Regions from separate parts of the Homo sapiens genome. Here region 2 is linked to region 1. Evidence: promoter capture Hi-C in 16 types of primary human blood cells and fetal thymus (Javierre and others, 2016). All regions are on one chromosome and are shown on one strand. Each heading gives the region's core, a stretch centred on a gene start or on the middle of the fragment in contact. The rest is flanking DNA. Distances are from core to core; before and after follow the strand shown.

Region 1 (6,397 bases), core at 1,574-4,073:
CCAGAGGAGCCCCAATTTGACGCCAGACCCTCCCTCGTAAGGATGCCATCCCTGACCCCCGTTCCCCAAGCCTCTGCTCCACTGTCTCTCTTTTTATTTGCTCACCCACTTGCCTCTGCCAGGCTTCATTCCCAGACAGGGTGTTTCCAAGGGGAACTAGGCGGCTGAGGATTCCAAGCAAAGGGCCAGTGTCCCTCCAGAGGCAGCAGAAACCCTGCAGGTCTATCCTCCCCTCTCCCAACCCTACTATGCTGTTTCAGCATCCTTCTGCTTTCATTCCAAGCTCTGATCACATTTTGTAAACACCTTATCCATTGGATAAAGTTCACTTGTTTATTCTCGCTCAACTCAGCTCTCCGTTCCAGGAAGGGAGGGGTCAACCGACTGATTCAGGCAGCATTCTCACGGTCTCATAAGGGACCCGGCATAGTGGGGGCATCCGTCTAGGGATGGCAGGGTAGCCCATGTACCCCAGAGGAGGTGGCAGAGCCTGTGTCTCAGCAGACTCGTGTGAATGCCACCACTCTGTGGCCTTGTCAACTGATGTGAATGTGAGACGGGGGACCCAGGGAAGGGATGTCCCTGGAGCTGCCAGGGCCCCCTGCCTGCATCCTCACCTCTGAGTTCTGGGGCTGGGCCTCTGGCAGAGTCAGTGCGTCTCGCCAGCTGCACATGAAAGAGAGGTCAGGGACGTCGCTCAGACCAAGGGGGCCGGTCAGAAACAATGCAGGGCGGAGGGAGCTGGGGAAGTCCATCCTGGAAACAAGGACCAAGCACCACACTGGCCACCTCGAGAGACTGGAAGCTGGTAAGGGGCGCCAGAGTTCCTGAGGAGTGAAAAGTGCACTACGGGAAGCATATGTTCTTTGAGGAAGCAGATAACAAAAAACAAATATGTAGCCCAAGGCCAAGCAGTAGTGAGAACTGTATTAAAGCCAACCACCCGTCCAGGAGAAGGGGATCTGGTAGTGGGCTGAGGGCGTGGTTTCAGCAAAGCCAGCCAGGAAAAGCCTCGTTGAGAAGGTGGCGTTTGAGCACAGCCTGAACCTAGTGAAGGAGAGAACCATGTACGCAACTGGGAAGAGGGTTCCAGGCCGAACGGTCAACAACTGTGAAAATCCTAGAGCAGTGAAGTGTGTGAGAAAATGAGGCAGCCAGAGTGAGCGAGGTGGAGAGCGGTGGAGATGGAGTCAGAAAGACGGCAAGGGGCAGCCTCTCTCCCGGCTCGTAAGTACCGTCATCATACATTTACAGACTACACCCCCAAGACGCTCAAGTTACTCCACAGCCAGGGACTGCATCTGAGCATCGTCTTCCTACTGTCAAGCACAGTGCCTCCCAGAAAATGCACTAGGGGTTGAAAAAAATAAATTTCTATCACAAGGGGCCGGGCGCGGTGGCTCACGCCGGTAATCCTAGTACTTTGGGAGGCCGAGGCAGGCGGATCACCTGAGGTCGGGAGTTCGAGACTGGCCTGACCAATGTGGAGAAACCCGGTCTCTACTAAAAATACAAAATTAGCCGGGCGTGGTGACGCATGCCTGTAATCCCAGCTACTCGGGAGGCTGAGGCAGGAGAATTCCTTGAAGCCGGGAGGCGGAGGTTGCGGTGAGCTGAGATCGCGCCATTGCACTGTAGCCTGGGCAACAAGAGCGAAACTCCATCTCAAGAAAAAAAAAAATTACATCACAAGGCTTTGGTAAATACAGTCCTCTAGAAGTATGAGCAGCCATAGCATCCCTCCTTTTTAATTAACAAAAATAACAGGGGCAAAAATAACAGCAGCGCTCGCTGACCAAGCGCCAGCATCTATCTGCCAGGCACATGCTAAATGCTGCACTCTTCTATCGCCGTCCCTGTTAACAGAGTTCAGGAAACGAAGGCTCAGCAAGAACTTTAGTCCAACAGCTCTTAGCTGCCACAGCCAAGACTTGATTCCCATCCGATTCAGAGGCAGAGCTCCGAACCAGTGCTCTCGCATGCACCGAAATGCAAACGCTAGCATTAGAGTCTCGCTATACAAAAATCTTTTCCCTTTGGCCGGGTGCGGTGGCTCCCGCCTGCAATCCCAGCACTTTGGGAGGCCAAGGCGGGCGGATCACCTGAGGCCAGAAGTTTGAGACCAGTCCGGCCAATACAGTGAAACCCTGTCAATACTAAAAATACAAAAATTAGCCGGGCGTGGTGGTGTACACCTGTAATCGCAACTACCGAGGAGGCTGGGCACGAAAATCGCTTGAATCTGGGAGGCAGAGGTTGCAGTGAGCCAAGATCATGCCACAGCACTCCAGCCTGGGTGACAGAGCAAGGTTCTATCTCAAAAATAAAATAGAAACAAAAATATTTTCTCTTGGAACCGCATAGCCTGAAACGATCCTAGACAGGCGGAGGGCGCTGGTGGAGAGCACGACCCCACAAAAGCCCTCAGACAAGGCAGCCTCGACTTCCCCGGCCGGCTTCCCGCCCTCGCTGCGGGCTCTCCAGGACCCTTTAGACCTCCAAGGCTACAGAACTCAGTCGGATCCGCAATAACGACAGGCCGGGGACTGCGAAACGTGAGCCTGCCGCGGGGACTGGGGATTGGGGGCGTCCCTCCCCTCCTACATCTGCGGGTCCGCTCCTCGAACACGCGCAGTCCGCGCGGAGGGGGCGCATGCGTGCACTTACGTGACCCCGGCCTCGTCGTGGTCGTCTGGAAAATGGGCCTCGGCGTGATGCTCGCCGGACCCTGGCACCACGAGGGAAATCTCAAGTAGAACCCCAGCTTTGGCACTCGGGACGGGTCAGCCCCGCCGCAGCTACCCACGGTCTTCCGGTTTGGACCGGAAGTGCCTCCTGCGGAGGCAGGAAGTCCCGCCTCCCAGCCAGGCCTCTTAGGGTCCTGGCGCGCCCCCTCCCGGGAGGAGAGGGAACGGGCGTGCAGGCGGCGCGTGGGCAGCGGAAATAAAGCTCCCTTGAGTCCCAATAGTGGAGGCCGGGTGGACTTAGGTTCGAATCCCACATCTACTTCACCAATTTCCTCAGAGTTGTATTAAATTAATCATTTAACGAACTCCCACAGAACACCTACTATAAGCCAGACCTGTATTGGTCAGTAGGTATCCTACTGATTGTCCTTAAATCCCAAGAAGCGGGCTTTACAAATAAGGGTACAAATACCTACTAAGAGTGAAGCTTTTCCAGGGGTGGTCAGGCAGGGAGAGCTTTAGGCAGTGGTCTTCAAACTCTAGCTAGCGTGCGTCAGCAGTAGCACCTGGGGGGCTAGTTAAAACACAGTCTCCAATTCGGTGAGTCTGGGGTGGGACCTGATGATTTGCCTAAGTTCCCAGGTGATGCTGAAACTGCTTATCTGGGGGCCATGCTTTAAGAACCACTGTCCAGTCATGAACCTTACCGTTATCCTAACATAGTACTTCTCAAACTTCAGTGAGCCTTAGAACCACCTGGGGGGCTTGTTACAAGTTTGCTAGGCTCCACCCTACCTCTGCCCCCCGAGTTGCTGATTCAGTAGATCTGGGATGTGGCCCAAGAGTCTGCATTTCTAGCAAGTTCCCAGATGATGCTGGTCCAGGGGCCATACTTTGAGAACCGTTGCTTTAAAGAATCAATTTCCAAATTCTCAGCTGTCATCTATGTCTTTATTTATTTTTTTGAGATGGAGGCTAGAGTGCAGTGGCACGATCTTGGCACACTGCAACCTCCGCCTCTTGGGTTCAAGCAATTCTTCTGCCTCAGCCTCCCGAGTAGCTGGGATTACAGGCCTGCGCCACCATGCCCGGCTAATTTTTGTATTTTTAGTAGAGACGGGGTTTCACCATGTTGGTCAGGCTGAGTCTTGAACTCCTGACCTCAAGTGATCCGCCTGCCTAGGCCTCCCAAATTGCTGGGATTACAGGATGAGCCACCACGCCTGGCCTATATTGTTTTTATCTGGAAGTTTTTACCTGGACTAAAAGTGCCAGCAGGGCTGTGTTCCTTTTGAGAGGCTCTAAGGAAGAGTCCACTATCTTGTCTTTTCTGGCTTCTGGAAGCTGCCTGCATTCCTTGGCTCATGACCCCTTTCCATCTTCAAAGCCAGCAATGCCAGTCGGATTCTTCTCATGAGGCCATCTCTCTGGTTTTTACTCTTCTGTCTCCCTCTTTCCCATGTAAGGACCCATGTGATTATAGTAGGCCCGCCCAGGTAATCCAGGATAATCTCCCTATTTTATTTGTTTTATTTATTTTTTTGAGACAGGGTCTCACTCTGTCGCCCAGGCTAGGGTGCAGTGGTACCATCATGGCTCATTGCAGCCTCAACTTCCCAGGCTGAGATGATTCTCCCACCTCAGTCTCTCGAGTAGCTGGGATTACATGCAAGCACCACCATGCCTGGCTAATTTTCTTTTTTTTTTTTTATTTTGAGACAGAGTTTCACTCTGTCACCCAGGCTGGAGTGCAGTGGCGTGATCTTGGCTCACTACAACCTCCACCTTCCAGGTTCAAACGATTTTCCTGCCTCAGCCTCCCGAGTAGCTGAGACTACAGGTGCCTGCCACCACACCCAGCTAATTTTTGTATTTGTAGTAGGGACGGGGTTTCACCATATTGGCCAGGCTGGTCTTGAACTCCTGACCATGTGATCCACCCGCCTTGGCCTCCCAAAGTGCTGGGATTACAGGCATGAGCCACCACGCCCGGCCTAATTTTTGTAGTTTTTGTAGAGATGGGATTTCATCATGTTGCCCAAGTTGGTCTCTAACTCCTGGGCTCAAGCTACCTTCCCACCTGGGCCTCCCAAAGTGCTGGGGTTACAGGTGAGAGCCCTATTTTAAAGGCAGCTGATTAGCAACCTTACTTCCACCTGCAACCTTAATGCCCCCTTGCCAAATAATATACTCATAGGTTCTGGGGATTAGGCTGTAGACATCTTTGGGGGAACCATTATTTTGCCTACCACACTAATATTCTACATTACCCTTGTAAAACGCCTATCCAGCTTTGGCACTGCGAGGCCAGTTCCATTTCTTCCTTTCCTCCTTTCTCTGAATAAGCCATTATCAATTTGCTTTTGTAACTGACATATACTCAACATGCAGTAAAGCACACGAGTCTTAAATGTACAGCTCATTGAATTTTTATTCATACATAGAAACCCACATGAACACCACCCAGATCAAGACAGAGAACATTTCTATCACTCAAGAAAGTTCCAGCCAGGCACAGTGGCTCATGCCTATAATTCCAGCACTTTGGGAGGCCGAGGTGGGAGGGTTGCTTGAGTCCAGGAGTTCAAGACCAGACTGGTCAACAGAGCAAAACCCCCATCTCTACAAAATTTTTTTCTAAAAAGAAAATTCCCTGGTGCCACTTCCCAGTCAATACTTCCTTCAAGAAGGAACCACTATTTGGACTCTTATCACCACAGATTAGTTTTGCCAGTTCAAGAACTTTACATAAGTGGAATCATGGAGAGGATGTGTCTGGCTTCTTCCACGCCATGTGCCTAATAGATTCACCTGTGTTGTGTACGCAGCTGTTGTTTCCTTTTTAAATTAGTGAGTCGTGTTCCATTGTATGAATATACCATTGATTTGTTCACGCAACCTCCTGTTGGTGAGCGTTTGGGGCGTTACTGGGTTTGATGACTTTGTGGAAGTCTCTCTGTGGATATGTGCAGCCCTCAGTCCATTTCTGGACATCTGCTGTGCTGTCCCTTCACTCTCCTGGGCCTCATCCCACTCTCTGGGCTGCACACACACACAAAATGGAATTGTTCTTCCTGATGTCAATTCTTGACATGTTGGGGAGGCTGACTACCCAGCCCACCACACCTGCTTCTTCCAAGTCAAAGGTTCTGGGAGGACTCCACCACCTGGTCCTCATATGCCCCAGCATCCTCACTGTCACAATCCTGGAGAGAGCTGCCAGGCCCAGCTTCAGCAGCAGCAGCAGCAAGCACTGTGACAAATCTTACAGACACTGGTCATGCTTTCCCAAGTTAGTGGCTACTGTAAGACTCCGTTAAACTTGCAGCCTCCTTCAAGCAAATACGCGTTGCATCACAGTAAGCCTTGTGTAAATTGTCTTCATCCCTGTCTTTATCTTATTTTTCCTATGTCTCTTGATCTCTAGCTCTTCACTTTAAACAATTGTTATCTTGTCTTATTTGTATGAATTAACTCAAAATCCCTTCTTAGGGGGGAAAAAGGCAGAGTATCAAATGGCTATTTTCTTAAAAAAAATTATTTATTTATTTTTTGAGGCAGAGTCTCGCTCTGTTGCCCAGGCTGGAGTGCAGTGGCGCAATCTCAGTTCACTGCAGCCTCTTCCTCCCAGGTTCAAGCGATTCTCCTGCCTCAGCCTCCTGAGTAGCTGGGACTACAGGTGTGCGCCACCACGCCCACCTACATTTTGC
Region 2 (6,378 bases), core at 355-2,854, 390 kb before region 1:
ATACTTCTTCAATCTGAAAGCTTTCTGTTAAAAAAAAAAATGTTAACATCGTTCTAAATTAATATTGAGACCTTAGAAATTTTTCCTGTGCAAGATAACGTAATTATTTGCCCCTTCCCTTCCATGGCTTGTTAGCAGGTAGATGAGGGGCTTCTCCTAGATTAATTTAACATCTCAGTTAATCAAAAGTAGCCGGGCATGGTGACTCATGCCTGTAATCCCAGCCCTTTGGGAGGCAGAGGCGGGTGGATCACTTAAGGTCAGGAGTTCAAGACCAGCCTGGCCAGCATGGTGAAACCCTATCTCTACTAAAAAATACAAAAATTAGCTGGGTGTGGTGGTGCACACCTGAAACCCCAGCTACTCAGGAGGCTGAGGCAGGAGAATCGCTTGAACCCAGGAGGCAGAGTTTGCAGTGAGCCATTGCACTCCAGCCTGGGCAACAGAGCAAGACTCCGTCAAAAAAAAAAAAAAAAAAAAAGAAAGAAAAGGAAATTTATGAACTCCAGAGTACCCATTCACTACCAAACCAACTGAGGGGAGAGAAAACTGAGGGAGAAAGTGGGGTGGGGTCTCAAAGGGTTTGCACTGTGCTTTGCTATAAATCATTCAAAGGGGCAAATTCTAAAGGATCTCTAAGTAGTTGCTGATTTTGTAAAGGTAGCCCATAAATCTGTTTACGTGTAGCTGCCTTAAACATGAGTCAACAGGGTAAGTCACACCAACAGGAAACCCAAGCACTAAAAAAGCCACCTACCTTTTCTGTTTACCAAATACTAAGAATAATAATCTAATAATCTGGCTACATCTTTCATAAAGACCTCCATCTTCTCTCCTTAACTGACTGTTGAGATTTGATAATTTTCACAGTCTAATGATAAAATGCTTTCAAAATGGTTCATCTAACACAATTAACAATTCTTTTACTATATGCAATGTGTTACCCTTACTATATTTCCTATTGCTAATAGATTAGCCCACTATTGAAAAAATTCTGCAGTTGTGACCGTGTTCACATGAAAGCATATACAAGACATGGAGAGACAGCAAAAAATGGTGGGAATGGGTGTGTGTATGAGGGTTTCAGATAAGAACTTCAATTATATAATTTAAGAAGAGTCAGTCTATAATTTAAGCAGAAATAATTGAGATACTCATCAAATTAAGTAAGCGGAAAAATTTCCTCTCTCTCATACTATGTTGCTATCATCACATCTATCGTTGGAGGGTTGCTGAGCTTGATACGCCTTTGAACCATTTTATTTGACTTTCCACGTGCCGTCTCATTGGTAGGGAGATGGTGAAAAGCGTTGGGTGGTGTAGGACGAGGGAGGTTTTCACTCTGAAGCTATGAAGATTTGGAGAAAGGGGCTTATAGAAGCACTATGAAAATAAACTGGAGACTATTTTTTTGCTACTTTTTAAAAAGCTTTTTCTTTAGAGAGTACTAAAGCCATTCTATATCTGTCGTACACATGAATTCAGACTATTATTAGAGAGTTATATCTGTGTTGTCATGCACATGTCAACACTGTCCTGATGACAAAATTTTATGTATCCCCCCAGATAAAAATTTTAAGAAATTTTAAATGCTTTTTATTCACACACACTTTTCAAAAGGGATAAAAGTTAATCATGTTAAAATATTCAGTCTATGGCAGATGTCGCTCCTTTGGGCCCTCACTGCTGAATTGCTTACAGTTTCTGAGCTGTAAACTAACATTTGCTTTACTATGTAGTTACAGAGAAATGTGCAACTTGTTTGTGAAACATTCAAATAAAGCTTATCTGGGATTTTTAACTTGTGTGTTTAGTCTTAGACCATCTTTAGTACAGTCTGGTCTAAACACTGTGACAGAGCAAAGGGACCTTTTTTTCCAATGGTGCACAGTGTCATGGGTGCAACTGGCTGGTGCCGGTGTTGTGGATGGTAAAAGAATTTACCGGCAGGGCGTGGTGGCTCACGCCTGTAATCCCAGCACTTTGGGAGGCCAAGGCGGGCAGATCACCGGAGGTCAGGAGTTCGTGACCAGCCTAGCCAAAGTGGTGAAACCCCATCTCTACCAAAAATACAAAAATTAGCTGGGCACAGTGGCGCATGCCTGTAATCCCAGCTACTCAGGAAGCTAAGGCGGGAGAATCGCTTGAACCTGGGAGGCGGAGGTTGCAGTGAGCCGAGATAGCGCCGCTGCACTCCAGCCTGGGTAACAGAGTGAGACTCTGTCTCAAAAAAAAAAAAAAAGAAGAAGAAGAAGAAGAAGAAGAATTTACCAATTTACCAAGACAGTTGTAGGTAAAGAAAGGCTGATTATTCAAGGGAAAGTACGTTGCAAGGAAGCAACAGGCAGCACAGCAGAGAAGGGGATGTCTGGAAAGAGGCAGGGGCTGGAGGGAAGTTTTATAGGGTTGTGCTGGAGGATGTTACACTTGGAGTGAGGTAGTTGTGCCAGCGGCTTGTTTGTGATTAGCTGTCTCTTGGAACAGTTGTTCCCTACCTGGGACCCCCCTTCCTCATTGTTGCTTACTTATCAGGACTCCACACCAGGTTAGCCTATGATGTTTAAAAACCAAGACTAAAACCAAGTGCTGCCTGCTTAATAATTGGCTCTCTTCTGCTTCTTTCATAAAAGTCAATCATTCTGATTTGGAAAAACAGATATATAGATGATAGAAGGATAGATGGATAGATGATAGAGAGAGAGAGATAGAAAGAGAGAGAAGATAGCAAGAAGGTTAGTGAGATCATTTTGTAAAAAAAGGAGGGGGCCAGATGTGGTGGCTCACGCCTGTAATTCCAGCAATTTGGGAGGCAGAGGTGGGCCGATCACCTGAGGTCAGGAGTTCAAGACCAGCCTGGCCAACATGGAGAAACCTCGTCTCTACCAAAAATATAAAACTAAGCCAGGTGTAATGGTGGGCACCTGTAATCCCAGCTACTCAGGAGGCTGAGGCAGGAGACTCTCTTGAACCTGGGAGCCGGAGGTTGCAGTGAGCCAAGATAGTGCCACTGCACTCCAGCCTGGGCAACAGAGCAGAGCAAGACTCCAACTCAAAAGCGAAAAAAAAAAAAAAAAAGGGAAGGGGGTATTCGTTAAGTGCTTCCTACGGGCCGGATACTTTACGTATCTATATAGATGTGTATATACATATTACCTTGTAGTTATATTTGTAATTTATGTGTAATACATAATTATATATCATATACATAATTTATGTAATAGACATTAGCACCATTCTATAGATGAAGAAACTGAGGTTCACACAGTTAAAACTATCTCACAGTAGGTCTCACGACTACTAAGTGATATGCATGGCCCCACCCTGGCACTTTTCTTGCTATATGCTAAGGCAGCACCACCCCATTTATCTCCAGGAACAAACTGTGTCATCACAAACAATGCATGAAAGTGCTGAGGACTAAGCAAGTTGTCAATGATGGGGGATGAAGCAGAGGAAACCCAAACTTGCAAATCTGGTCTATAAGAAAACTTTCCTTCCCCCTAGGCAGTCTGTCTCCAGGAAACTGCTAGTTTGGGTAAATAAATAGCAAACGGATGCCTTGGCAGCCAGTCATAGAGACGCTAATTTGGAAATTTGCCTCAAAAGAACATAAGAAACAGAAACCAATGCTTCAATCCGAAAGCAAGAGAACGTGAAATTGTCAGAACAACCACCGATCACACCATTCTCCCCGAGAAAAGCAATTTTCTAGGTTTTTGTTTGTTTGTTTGTTGTTGTTTGATTTTTTTACAAACAAGTCCTCAAAGAGACCTCCTTGTGCTTTGGTAATGCGAGGCAAAATATCCACTCATTCTAACCAGGGCACACCCTTGAGAGGGTAGCAACGCTGGATTTTTACATGGGAATCCAAGCCAAGAAGACTGGTACCAGGATGGTGGTGTTTCTAGATTAAATCTGCCGTTCTGTGTCTGTAACTAAGCCCTACCTTTGCTTGGATGATGACTGTCGTGCCCCAGCCCCTCCTCGTGCCAGCGGGACAGCATCCTCCTCCTGAGGCTTACTAGCACCTGAAGGATTGTTCTGTGAAAAACAGGGACCCAGCACCTGCTGACATCCCTCAGCATCCTCTCTGAGTTTATCCCCACGGAGAAGAAGCAAGTCGATGTTACCCTGATGCAGTCATAGTTCCTGTGCTTCCCCTTATCAAATTTTGTAACCATGTTGTTTCACAGCACACGCAATGTCTTCACCCTTTGGCTCCCTGCCTTCTTTCAAGGCAGGATTTTCTAAACTTTAATCCCAAGGGAATATCGTCCCTATTTAGCCGTCTCCCTGTCTCATCTCTCAGCACCTTCACTAACTCTGCCACACTGAAATGCCACCTGTACCATCAGCTACAACTCTAGTTTTAAACTACGTAATTTTACATTTATAATTTTGGCTTGAATTTATTTTAAAAGAAGCTGGTACATTGGCCGGGCATGGTAGCTCATACCTATCAACCCAGCATTTGGAGAGGCCAAGGCAGGTAGGTAGATGGTTTGAGCCCAAGAGTTCAAGACCAGCCTAGACAACATGGCGAAACTCCATCTCTACAAAAAATACAAAGATTAGACAAGCGTAATGGTGCATACCTGTCGCAGGAGGATTGCTGGAGTCTGAGAGGTTGAGGTTACAGGGAGCCATGACTGCGCCACTGCACTCCAGCCTGGGTGACAGAGTGAGACCCTGTCTCAAAAAAAAAAAAGAAAAAAGAAAAAGAAAACTCTACATTATAACAACATGAATGAAAAACCAGTATCACTTGGAATACAATAAAGCAGCAGTAAAAATAAATACAATGAAAACAAACAAAAAAGCATAATTACCTTTTAGCTGGATACTATGTCTACTTAAGGTCTGCGTATGAAACTCTCTGTATTAAAATGAGAGATAGATAAGGATTAGAGAGGTCTCAAAGACACAGTAATATCCACCTGAGACCCTCTGCTTGTCAGGATCACTCAAAGAGAAATGAAAATGGAATGAATGAATGTCAACCGTGTGAGTCAGGCTTTTGTATCACCTGTCCACACAGCACCTAGAACCATTTTAGTAGAAGCAAAACAAGCAAAGTTGCATGAACAGGAGGTAAGGAAGTGGATCAAGTAACTAAGACAATAAGTCCTTCCTTTCTAGAAGCTCCCCTATGAGCAGTAGCTCAACAAGGGCACACAGTCAGTGGAGGTTCACCCTGGTTGGACTGGTTTCCATTTTCTATTTGTTTTTTGTGCAGCGGGGGTGGGGCGAGGGGTTGGTCACTTTTATGTGCTGAGAAGGAGGAATCATTGGAAAAAAGAAAATGAATGCAGGAAGCAAGTTCCTGGAGTTGAGGAAAGAGAATGGGATCAGGGCCCAGGTCTCTCTGCCTTAGACAAACGCAGAGCCCTGTGCGCGAGGAAGAACACTGCTTCCTGAGACAGAAAGGATCGTTAGCTAGTGACACGGGGGTTAATGTAGGAACTTAGGAATGCACGCAGGACGGGAGTTAAGGGGTTTTGATGGACAGTCTCCATTTTCTCCACAAAATAGAATATAAGGTCATCCTCTGAGGGTGAAGGGGATAAAGTCCTGGATTTGGGGGGACCAGAAAGGTTTGGAATGGCTACTGAAGGGCCAGGGCTAGGGCAGCCCAGGTCACTAGAAGGAAGGGGCACCCTTCACTGACCCTGCTGTGGCACCGCCCATCAGGTGAAGGTTGCTCAGCAGCAGCATGAGGCAACCTGGGAGGAAAGCAAACCAGGGGAGCAGCTGCTGGGCCCCAGGGCTGGGCCTACAGAGCTGACGCAGGTGCAACTAGGCAAAGAACATTCCAGTTCCTCCAAGGCCCCGCTAGGATCATTCCATCGCTGCTCACACAAGGCAAACGCACAAAGCACCTCATTGCATGTGGTCACATGGACAGACCAACACCTTCCATAGTGTATTTTATTATTACTGTTTTTTGAGACAGAGTCACAATCTGTTGCCCAGGATGGAGTGCAGGGGATAGATCTCGGCTCACTGCAACCTCTGCCTCCCCAGGTCAAGCGATTCTCCTGGCTCAGCCTCCTGAATAGTTGGGATTACAGGTGCACGCCACCTAGCCCAGCTAATTTTTGTATTTTTAGTAGAGATGGGGTTTCGCCACACTGGCGAGGCTGGTCTTGAACTCCTGGTCTCAAGTGATCTGCCTGCCTCAGCCTCCCAAAGTGCTGGGATTACAGGCATGAGCCACCATGCCCAGCCACCTATCATAGTACAGATCCAAGAAAGGAGGCATGTCAAAAGAATGGCCCAGAGAACCAAAAAGCAATTATAAAAGTACCATAATAAGCGCACGTAAAACAAAACTGTCTTGAATGGAAAAAGGGAGTTACAACATGCAATTAATCTAGG

The links. Contacts are between HindIII fragments. The CHiCAGO score rates a contact against its expected background, and 5 or more counts as called.
Region 2: a fragment that was not itself captured here is called in contact with the fragment with the promoter of TAF1C in region 1 in 1 of 17 cell types (total CD8 T cells); the score reaches 5.2 in total CD8 T cells.

The regions. Positions count from the first base shown.
Region 1 is chr16:84,184,234-84,190,630 of GRCh38, forward strand. TAF1C (TATA-box binding protein associated factor, RNA polymerase I subunit C) reads right to left here and starts at 2,824. Exons shown (of 15, transcript NM_001243156.2): 1 at 2,668-2,824; 2 at 618-827. The coding sequence starts at 755. RefSeq lists an enhancer at 2,664-3,164 and a silencer at 2,810-3,019. The HindIII fragment of the contact is 17,434 bases long and covers 1-3,172 here.
Region 2 is chr16:83,798,840-83,805,217 of GRCh38, forward strand. CDH13 (cadherin 13) reads left to right here. Exons shown (of 14, transcript NM_001257.5): 14 at 1-1,801. It overlaps CDH13-AS2 (CDH13 antisense RNA 2), which reads right to left and starts at 5,137. Exons shown (of 3, transcript NR_120308.1): 1 at 4,830-5,137; 2 at 4,596-4,689. RefSeq lists a silencer at 3,394-3,553. The HindIII fragment of the contact is 354 bases long and covers 1,428-1,781 here.